Linked DNA regions of Homo sapiens: regions 1 and 2 are each linked to region 3. Evidence: promoter capture Hi-C in human tissues and cell types (Jung and others, 2019). All regions are on one chromosome and are shown on one strand. The core of a region is centred on a gene start or on the middle of the fragment in contact, and the rest is flanking DNA. Distances in the headings are between cores, read along the strand shown. Region 1 overlaps UBE2R2 (ubiquitin conjugating enzyme E2 R2). Region 2 has its middle 20 kb from the start of TESK1. Region 3 holds the start of GALT (galactose-1-phosphate uridylyltransferase).

Region 1 (2,894 bases), core at 309-2,808, 730 kb after region 3:
ATGTAAATGAGCAGCTAAACCTTGGCAAATTTGTTTTTTTTTTTTTTTAAAGTTTGTTTTGTGGGTTTTTTTCCATTTTCTTTTGCTACCCAGTATATGCAGCACTTGTGAACTCCCAACAGGTTCCCAGCTTTAAACACATTAAACATCTTGAAAGACTATTGAATTCTTCAAGAATCTAAAAACAGACCAAACGTGTTTTGCTGTGAACATTCTGTAGAGACGAAGTGAGGCGGGAGTTTGGGTTCATATTTTTTAAAAAAAGAATCAATATAGTGATGGAAGGGTAAAGAATGCAAGAATTCAGACATTCTGTGGAGGGTTACTCTCTCTCCATTAAAGGTCCATAAAAAGGAGCAAACTGAGATCCATAAGGGGAGTCAGCAGGAGCTGTGTGTGTTTCCCCACCCGCTGTGAATAGGTTTTTGCTGAGGGGCCATGGCCAGGTCCCCACTTGCTCCCCTCCCTTTGGCCTGAGATGGCAGGGCAGTACAGGGGCACTGAAGGAGCACGTCACGACTCCTCATTCCCAGAATCATCATCATCATAACAGTCGGCATCTTCCTCCTCCTCATCTTCATCATCAATGTCGTCATCATACAAGTCGTCGTAAAGCAAATCTGAGCTGTTGTCATTGGAAGGCACTTTAGTTTTGATGCAGTATTCCGCCAGGGTTGTGGGGACCTTCACTCCATCCTTTTCTGCTTCGGCCTTAGTGGCTGAAACTTGTTTCCTGAAGGGAGGTTGACACAGAAATGGTTTACGGTAAGTCTTTTTTTAAGACAGATTTATAATTGGCCTTAAATAATCAATATTACTTATGACTCAGCTCTCCAAACTTCAGTACCTGCCTGAAAGCATCTGACAGATACCCTGTACTACACCAAATGCTTTCAACCCACTGGGTACAATTTTGAAGTAAACTTTGACTTTTTAGGAGGGGAAATACACTGTTAATATCAAGGGAGTTTAAAGCAGTGGATCAATTATAGCCAGAATCACCTCGTCAACTGGCTGTCCTCCGATTCATGTAAGGGCCAATAGGTCGGCGACTTAAGAATCAGAACAGGTATTGACTTAGTGGGCGGAATGTCATGCTTTGTTGTTTGCATGTGTGAAGCACAGGGATAACTGCCAGAATAAGAATAGATAATAGAAGGGCTAATACGCCTCCTAGTTTCTTGGGGCTAGATCATAAAGGTTGCATATGTGAATAAAACGTCCCACTCTGGTTTAATGTGGGGTGGGGTGCTTAGGGGATTGGCTAGGGTTTTGGCCTAGTCACCTCACCACCAAACTCAAGTGCCCCAACAATTCTTAATTTAATTATCCTCTTAATTTTCACTGACAGTAAAATTCAAATGCCTATGCCAGATTCCAGTGTCTTGCACGACCCACTCTTCCCCACCCAAGACGGAGTCTTGCTCTGTCACCCAGGCTGGAGTGCAGCGGCGTGATCTCGGCCCACTGCAACCTCCATCTCCCAGGTTCAAGCAATTCTCCTGCCTCAGCCTCCCAAGTAGCTGAGATTACAGGCTCCCGCCACCCCACCGGGCTAAATTTTGTATTTTTAGTAGAGATGGGGTTTCACCATGTTGGCCAGGCTGGTCTCGAACTCCTGGCCTCATGATCTGCCCACCTCGGCTTCCCAAAGTGTTGGGATTACAGGCATGAGCCACTGCACCCGGCCACATGACCCACTCTTGTATTTTCTCCAGCCCTTCAACACATTCACCCTGGTCTTTTTTTGGCATCTCGGACACACCTTGTTGATTTTTCTGTCTGGACCAGTTGCTCTTCCCCTGCCCCACACATGCCTGGCTCCTTCCTGTCACTCAGAATCACGGCCTCAGATATTAAGGCTTAAATATCACCTTAGAGAAGGCCTGGCCTGACAACCCAATTTAAAGCAGCCATCTAGTCATTCTTTCACATTATCCTACTTAGCACTATCTAGTATTTTTTGCTTGCTCACTCTTCTGTCTCCACATATTTGAATGTGAGCGTAAATGTCTTTCTTAGTCCCATTTCCCCAGTCAGTGCCTAGCACATAGCCTGGCACATAAGAGGTGTGCAATAAATACTGATTGTATGAATGAACAAACAATAAATTGTTTCCTTCAACAATTATAAAAATTTGAGTCATCAAGACTAGACCACTCTTCCTGATCTTCCTAATGTCAATCTCTTAGTTGTGCTTGAAGCTTTTCTTCTGTTGCCTTGCTTTGAATATTGATGGTCCTGAGGCTTCTGGGCTTCAATCTCCACACTCTCAGCACTCTCCCTGGGACATCATCTCTGTTCCCATAATTTTAACCACCACTCCCTTTATGCTGACAGCTCTTGGCTTATATAAACAAATGCCTTTTGGAAGCCTCTGTCCTAATGTTCCATATGCAGAGGTAGACTGCATATGCATTTTCTACCTCTATGGACAGTTTCTCCCATTTTACTTCTCTGAATAAATGAGCATTGCTTCTTAAAATAATAAATCTCACTCCAAAGACCTATTGCTTTACAGCTTAAATATTTTTATATCTGTCCCCTCATCCCCATTACTACTACCTCAGTTTAGTCCATGTTGGTCCCCTGGCCAACTATTTGATTTTTTTTTTTTTTTTGAGACAAGGTCTCCCACTGTCACCCAGGCTAGAGCACAGTGACGCAATCTCAGCTCATTGCAACCTCTGGCTCCAGAGCTCAAGCAATCCTCCCACCTCAGACTCCCAAGTAGCTGGGATTACAGGTATAAGCCACCTCTCCTGGCTAATTTTTTTGTAGAGATGGTATTTTGCCATGTTGCCCAGGCTTGTCTCAAACTCCTGGGCTCAAGCAATCTGCCCGCCTCGGCCTCCCAAAGTCCTGGGATTACAGGCGTGAGCCACTGTGCCCAG
Region 2 (3,189 bases), core at 309-2,808, 940 kb before region 3:
TATCTTTCCTTCATTTATGAAGCTTAGTTTTGCTGGATACAGAATTCTTGGCTGATAATTGTTTTGTTTAAGGAGACTGAAAATAAGACCCCAATCCCTTCTAGATTGTAGGGGTTTCTGCTGAGAAATCTGCTGTTAATCTGATAGGTTTTCCTTTATAGTTTACCTGATGCTATTGCCTCACAGCTCTTAAGATTCTTTCCTTTGTCTTGACTTTAGATAACCTGATGACTATGTGCCTAGGTGATAGTCTTCATGCGATGAATTTCCCAGGTATTCCTTGAGCTTATTGTATTTGGATGTCTAGATCTCTAGCAAGGCCAGGGAAGTTTTCCTCAATTATTCCCTCCAATATGTTTTCCAAACTTGTAGTTTTTTGTTTTGTGTTATTTTGTTTTTGAGACGGAGGTTTGCTCTTGTTGCCCAGGCTGGAGTTCAGTGGTGTGATCTTGGCCCACTGCAACCTCTGCATCCCAGGTTCAAGCAGTTCTCCTGCCTCAGCCTCCCGAGTAGCTGGGATTACAGGCATGCACCACCACACCCAGCTAATTTTGTATTTTTAGTAGAGATGGGGTTTTACCATGTTGGTCAGGCTTGTCTGGAACTCCTGACCTCAGGTGATCCACTCGCCTTGGCCTCCCAAAGTGCTGAGATTACAGGTGTGAGCCACCACGCCTGGTCTCTAGAGGGTATTTAAACCCCAGAAAATTCTGTAACTGATGCTCTTGAGCCACTTGCTTGAGCCCACTCCTACCCTATGGGGTGTGCTTTTACTTAAAATAAGTTTCTGCTTTTACTGCCTTGCTTTGTGTGTTTTGTCTGATTATTTGTTCAAAACGCCAAGAACCTGGACAACTACCCTCAACCAGTAACACTATTGCTCATTTATTTCTGGTGTTCTTGGGTCTTACGGGGTTATAGACTGTGTGACTCCTGGAGGGGAAAGGGTGGCCAACATACAGTCACCTCTGTTTCATGTTTTTGATATACAAGGGAAAGCTATTCTTAAAAGAACAGGTGACTCCCCAGGGAGTCAGGAGTGGTTACAGGGCATGACTTCTTCCCACTCATGGCCACAAACAAAAACAAGCCCAGTTGGAGCACAAACAGGGTCCCTACGGGGTGCGATGCCTACCCTTTGCTGCCAAGTTGTGTCTATAGAGATATTTTTCCCTGTTCTAATTGGGGTGGTTGAACAATCTTTGTTTTCCAAAAGGGGAGGAGGTACTCCCACCTTCCCAGACTAAATAGTTGTTTTTCTCCCATGTGTTCCTTTTTTTTTTTCTCCTGTATGTTCTGATCCAGGGGAAGGAACCATAGATGGTCTCATTGCTTACAAGTTCTATCCCATTTACTTTGCTGTGGCATTGGGAACTTGGCAACTAAGGCTGGATCAGAGCATTGCAGGAAACTTGGCTTTTGTGTCATTAACACAACACTGGGTGCCAAAGATAGAATCATTAGTGCACTAGAAGTATAGATACCCAACTTTCCAGGTCCACATAATAGCAGTGAGGGGGTTCAGGTGGAACCCATTAAGTGGGGGAGAGTTCCATCTAACAAGTAATAGTCTGGGGAGAGGCAGTGAGATTTTTCCGGGTAGGCCTTATGGACTTGCTTTTTAATCAGCTGTAACTCTGCCTCAGCCTCCTTTGTTAATTGTTGAGGGCTAGTGAGACTAAGATCTCCTCTAAGGATAGAAAATAGATTACTCATGGCATAGGTAGGAATGCCTAGAGCAGGTTGTGTCCAATTAATGGTCTTTAGTCATTTTTGAAAGTCATTTAATGTTTTCAATTGATCTCTACGTATGGTTACTTTCTGTGGCACAATTGTAGTGTCATTTACTAAGGTCCCCAAGTAGGAGTAAGGAGTAGTAGTCTGAAATTTGTCAGGGGCTATAATTAAACTGGCAGGAAAAATCAAGTTTTGCAAGTGATCATAACATTGGAGTAATATTTCTCGAGTGGGGGCAGCACAAATTATATCTTCTATACAATGAGTAATGTAACACTGTGGAAATTTTTTACGAGTCGGTTCAATTGCTTGTCTTACATAAGTCTGGCAAATTGTTGGACTGTTCAACATGCCTTGAGGCAACACTTTCTAATGAAAATGCTTAGCAGGCTGCAGGTTGTTTACTGCAAGAATTGTAAATGCAAACCATTCAGTCTTGCTTAGCTAAGGGGATAGTAAAGAAACAGTCTTTTAAATCTATGACTATTAAAGACCAGTTTTTTGGAATCATAGCAGGAGAAGGCAGTCCTGGCTGTAATGTCCCCATAGGTTGTATAATTGAATTAATGGCCCTTAAGTCAGTTAACATTCTCCATTTACCTGATTTTTTCTTAATTATGAAAACTGGAGAATTCCAAGGGGAAAATGTTGGAGCTATGTGTTCTTTTTCTAATTGTTCAGTAACTAAGTCCTCTAAAGCCTCCAGTTTCTCTTTACTCAGTGGCCATTGTTCTATCCAAATTGGCTTATTCATTAACCATTTTAAAGGTATAGGTTCTGGAGGCTTAAAAATGGCCGCCATCAAAAATAATAATCTTAAACCTTGGTGGGAAATTTGTCTTTCCGCTTGAAGCGGTTCCTTCGAACTTTGCAAATTTTTTCCTAGTCCCGTACCAGGAACATACCCCATTTTATGCATCATATGTTGACTTTGAGGGCTGTATAATTGTTCTGGAATTAGAACTTGTGCTCCCCATTGTTGTAATAAATTTATAGGTACAGAAGTTATAATTGGTTGAATAGTCCAGGTTGTCCATTGGGCCCTTCACAATGCAAAATATAACTACTTTAATATACTTCAGGGGCTTTACCAACTCCAACTATGTTAAATTGAGCGGGTTGAATTGGCCACGTGGACGGCCAGTGCTGTAGATAAATGATTGAAACGTCCACTCCTGTATCTACCAAACCTTTAAATTTCTTTCCCTGAATAGTTATTTCACAGGTAGGATGTTTATCAGTAATTTGATTCACCCAATAAACTGCTTTGCCTTGTTTATTTGTGCTTCCAAATCCTCCTGTTCATTTAATTTCACTTTTCCCCATTTCTACATATGGCACAATCAGGAGTTGTGTTATATGCTGTCCTGGCTCTGCTTTCCAGGGAACAGAAGTAGATATAACAACGTGAATTTCCCCATTGTAATGTGAATCAGTGACTCCTGTTTGTAC
Region 3 (3,095 bases), core at 1-2,500:
ACTGAGGCCCATGCATCAACAACAGCCCGGATCTCAGGGACCGACATGAGTGGCAGCGTTACATCCGACCAGGGGTGGAAGCACATGACCTTACTGGGTGGTGACGGGAGAAAAGATAACCGAGAGGTAGGGCTTGGCTGTGCTACGGGCAGGGCCGAACCCCAATGCTGAGTCTCCAACTCTGGTTTGAAAGTTGTAAGAGGGGAAATCCATAGTTACCAGACTCCTCGAGCAGACTTTGCTTGGAAAAGGGGATGATCACTGGGTCCTGAGGTAAAGGAGTATCACTCTCTGCAGCAGAAGTCCCTCAAGAGGTCTAGCCACCCTCCTCCCCAGCAGCAGTTGGAGCCAGGTTACCTGGACTGGGGGCATCAGGCTGCAGAGCTGGGAAGTCGTTGTCAAACAGGAAGGTGCTATCGTACTGGGGATTCACCTACCGACAAGGATAGGCTAGAAGCACTCACTGCCCCATACCACCAGTTACCTGGTGGGCTTCAAAGACTGGACAGGCTACAAGGGAGTAGGGAAGGCCCACCCTAGGGGACCAAAAAGCTTGGTGGGATATGACCCAGAAGGAGGTTCACTATCCCTGTGGGTGGAGGACAGTTCTAAGAGGGAACTACTCCCCGTGGCCCAGCCTGCAGATGCAGGGCTCTACAGGCTTACCTCTCCGTTGGCTCGGATGGCCCCAGGACACAGAGGGTTGAGAGGGTCATGGCGGGGCACTGTCTTCAGAAGCTGGGGCTCCACTTGACCCTGCCAGGGCCGCTTCATGCGGTGAGCTGACACCAGCACCCACTCATCCTGCAGCGGGTTGTAGCGGATATGCTGATGGTCTGGGGGCAGACAGTCAAGATCAGTCCTCAGAGCTCTCTAGCTCCCTCTCTCCTGGGTCTCACCCACCAGCAGGCCCAAGCTCGGGAGCGCCCTCTCGGCCCTGTCCCGCTCAGGAGCTAGAGGCCCAGGATTGGACTTTCCCAGCGCCAATTGGCCTGCTGCTCGTACAGGCCTGCAGACTGTACGCCTTGTCGGTCTGGCTCGGGATGAGCGTTCCAACCTTCGGAGGGGACGAAAGCTTCCTAAGGAAGGGGAGGGCTCGGCTCCGCGCCCCAGCGAGTCCCTGCCGCGGTGCAGTTACCGTTTGCCCGGAAGGTTGCTGCTGCGGCGTCCGCCTCTGACGCCTGCTGGCGTTGCTGAGGATCGGTTCCACTGCGCGACATGAGGCCACCGGGGGATCCGCTGGAAAATCTGCAGGGCCGTGCCTCACCTTTCACTTTCTCCGTCCACACCACCCCTCCCCGCGCCGCCCCCGATGATTGGCCAGCCGCCAGCACGTGACTGACTGACTGGGCTGCCCTGCCACCTGGGGGCGGGGCTCAGAACAGCTGTGAACCCTGGGGGCCGACATTGATGATCCTACTTCACCCAGAGCTAGAGCCACTACACTGGAAGAACCTCTGTGAAAGCTGCCTACTGCAGAATCCTTGGGCTCCAGGATGCCTACAGGACTTGCTTGCTGCAATCATTCATTTGATCTTTCATTCAGCAAATATTTACCAAGCATCTAGCATGTGCTAGGCACCTAGGCTGTGTAAAGCATTGGGATGCACATGTCAGGCATGGCCTCTGCCCTGCCTGAGCTTACATTCTAGGGCGAGTAAGGATATGACCCTGGATCAACAGCGCCTCAGTCACCTGCTCAGTGGCTGTAGCGCAGGAGAGGCAAACTTGGTGGGGTCTGTGTGGAGTACTTCACCATAACCATATCCTATCCCCAAAAGCAAAAACAGATTTGGGAAAAAGGGCTAAGTAACCATATTCTCTTTTTCTCTCACTCTTGCTCTCCTTCCTCTCTCTCTCTCTCTCTTTTTCATACACACACCAAGACAGCACAAGAAGTGGGAGGGGTAAAAGGGCTATAAAAAAAAATCTAAAAATGGCCGGGCTCGGTGGCTCACGCCTGTAATCCCAACACTTTGGGAGACCAAGGCAGGCGGATCACAAGGTCAAGAAATTGAGACCATCCTGGCCAACATGGTGAAACCCCGTCTCTAGTAAAAAAAAAAAAAAAAAAAATTAGCTGGTCTTGGTGGCGTGCACCTGTAGTCCCACCTACTCGGGAGGCTGAGGCAGGAGAATCACTTGAACCCAGGAGGCAGAGGTTGCAGTGAGCCGAGATTGTGCCCATGCACTCTAGCCTGGCGACAGAGCAGACTCCGTCACAAAAAAAAAAAAAAAAGTACAAGAAAGTCTAAAAATGTGGAGAGTACAGGACTATCAGAAGCTCCAGCCACCATCTAGGTGGGGCCTAGTGTTTCCTTTACACATCCCCTTCCCTTTTCTAAATTTTCCTTGGATGGGACCAATTGGCTAACACTAGGATAAAATTCAAATTAATTCCTCCCCTGGTACTTTTGTTTGTTTGTTTGTTTGAGAGAGAGTCTCACTCTGCCACCCAGGCTGGAGTGCAGTGGCGTGATCTTGGCTCACTGCAACCTCCACCTCCCAGGTTCAAGCGATTCTCCTGCCTCAGCCTCCAAGTAGCTGGAATTAGAGCTGTGTGCCACCACACTGGGCTAATTTATGTATTTTTAGTAGAGACGGGGTTTCACATGTTGGCCAGGCTGGTCTTGAACTCCTGACTTCAAGTGATCCTCCTGCCTCAGCCTCCCAAACAGCTGGCCCCCAGTACTTTTAAAGAGCCATCTAAATATTGTCTAAACCTCTTCCCCATTTCACATTGGAGCCCAGAGGACTCAAGGTCACCCAGAGAATTAGTGGCCAAGCTGAGATTTGAATGCAAGTTTCCAAGGCTTTTCCCAGTGCTGTGAGATGCCTCTGAGGCTTCAGTGGAATGCAGGACAGAGACCCAGTGAGTTAGAAGTTGAGCCATAGCAGGGACATCCCTTCCCCCAATCAAGACCAAGCCAAGCCAGGTGTTTTGCAATTGAGCTGCAAAAACTAGGTCATGGGTCATTTACTTGATCTCTGCCCTAGGGTCCTCAGACTGGAATAGGAAGAGGCTACCTTCAGAGGTAGGGGGCAGGGAGCTGAGGACTGAGAAACAGGGGTTTTACCTGTCCCACTGGCTGTTC

What was found. Contacts are between HindIII fragments. The study calls those that stand out against the background at their distance.
Region 1: a fragment that was not itself captured here is called in contact with the fragment with the promoter of GALT in region 3 in 2 of the 25 tissues and cell types used here (dorsolateral prefrontal cortex and heart left ventricle).
Region 2: a fragment that was not itself captured here is called in contact with the fragment with the promoter of GALT in region 3 in 2 of the 25 tissues and cell types used here (H1 embryonic stem cells and liver).

Annotation. Positions count from the first base shown.
Region 1 is chr9:33,914,857-33,917,750 of GRCh38, reverse strand. UBE2R2 (ubiquitin conjugating enzyme E2 R2) reads right to left here. Exons shown (of 5, transcript NM_017811.4): 5 at 1-733. The coding sequence ends at 514. Among named protein-coding and RNA genes, the nearest start is that of SNORD121B, 18 kb to the left of the region's middle. The HindIII fragment of the contact is 7,979 bases long and covers 1-2,894 here.
Region 2 is chr9:35,583,758-35,586,946 of GRCh38, reverse strand. No RefSeq gene overlaps it. Among named protein-coding and RNA genes, the nearest start is that of TESK1, 20 kb to the left of the region's middle. The HindIII fragment of the contact is 5,243 bases long and covers 1-3,189 here.
Region 3 is chr9:34,644,830-34,647,924 of GRCh38, reverse strand. It overlaps GALT (galactose-1-phosphate uridylyltransferase), which reads right to left and starts at 1,250. Exons shown (of 11, transcript NM_000155.4): 1 at 1,139-1,250; 2 at 667-836; 3 at 358-433; 4 at 220-268; 5 at 1-93. The coding sequence starts at 1,220. RefSeq lists enhancers at 646-825, 1,396-1,505, 2,719-3,013 and a silencer at 2,719-3,013. The HindIII fragment of the contact is 1,689 bases long and covers 815-2,503 here.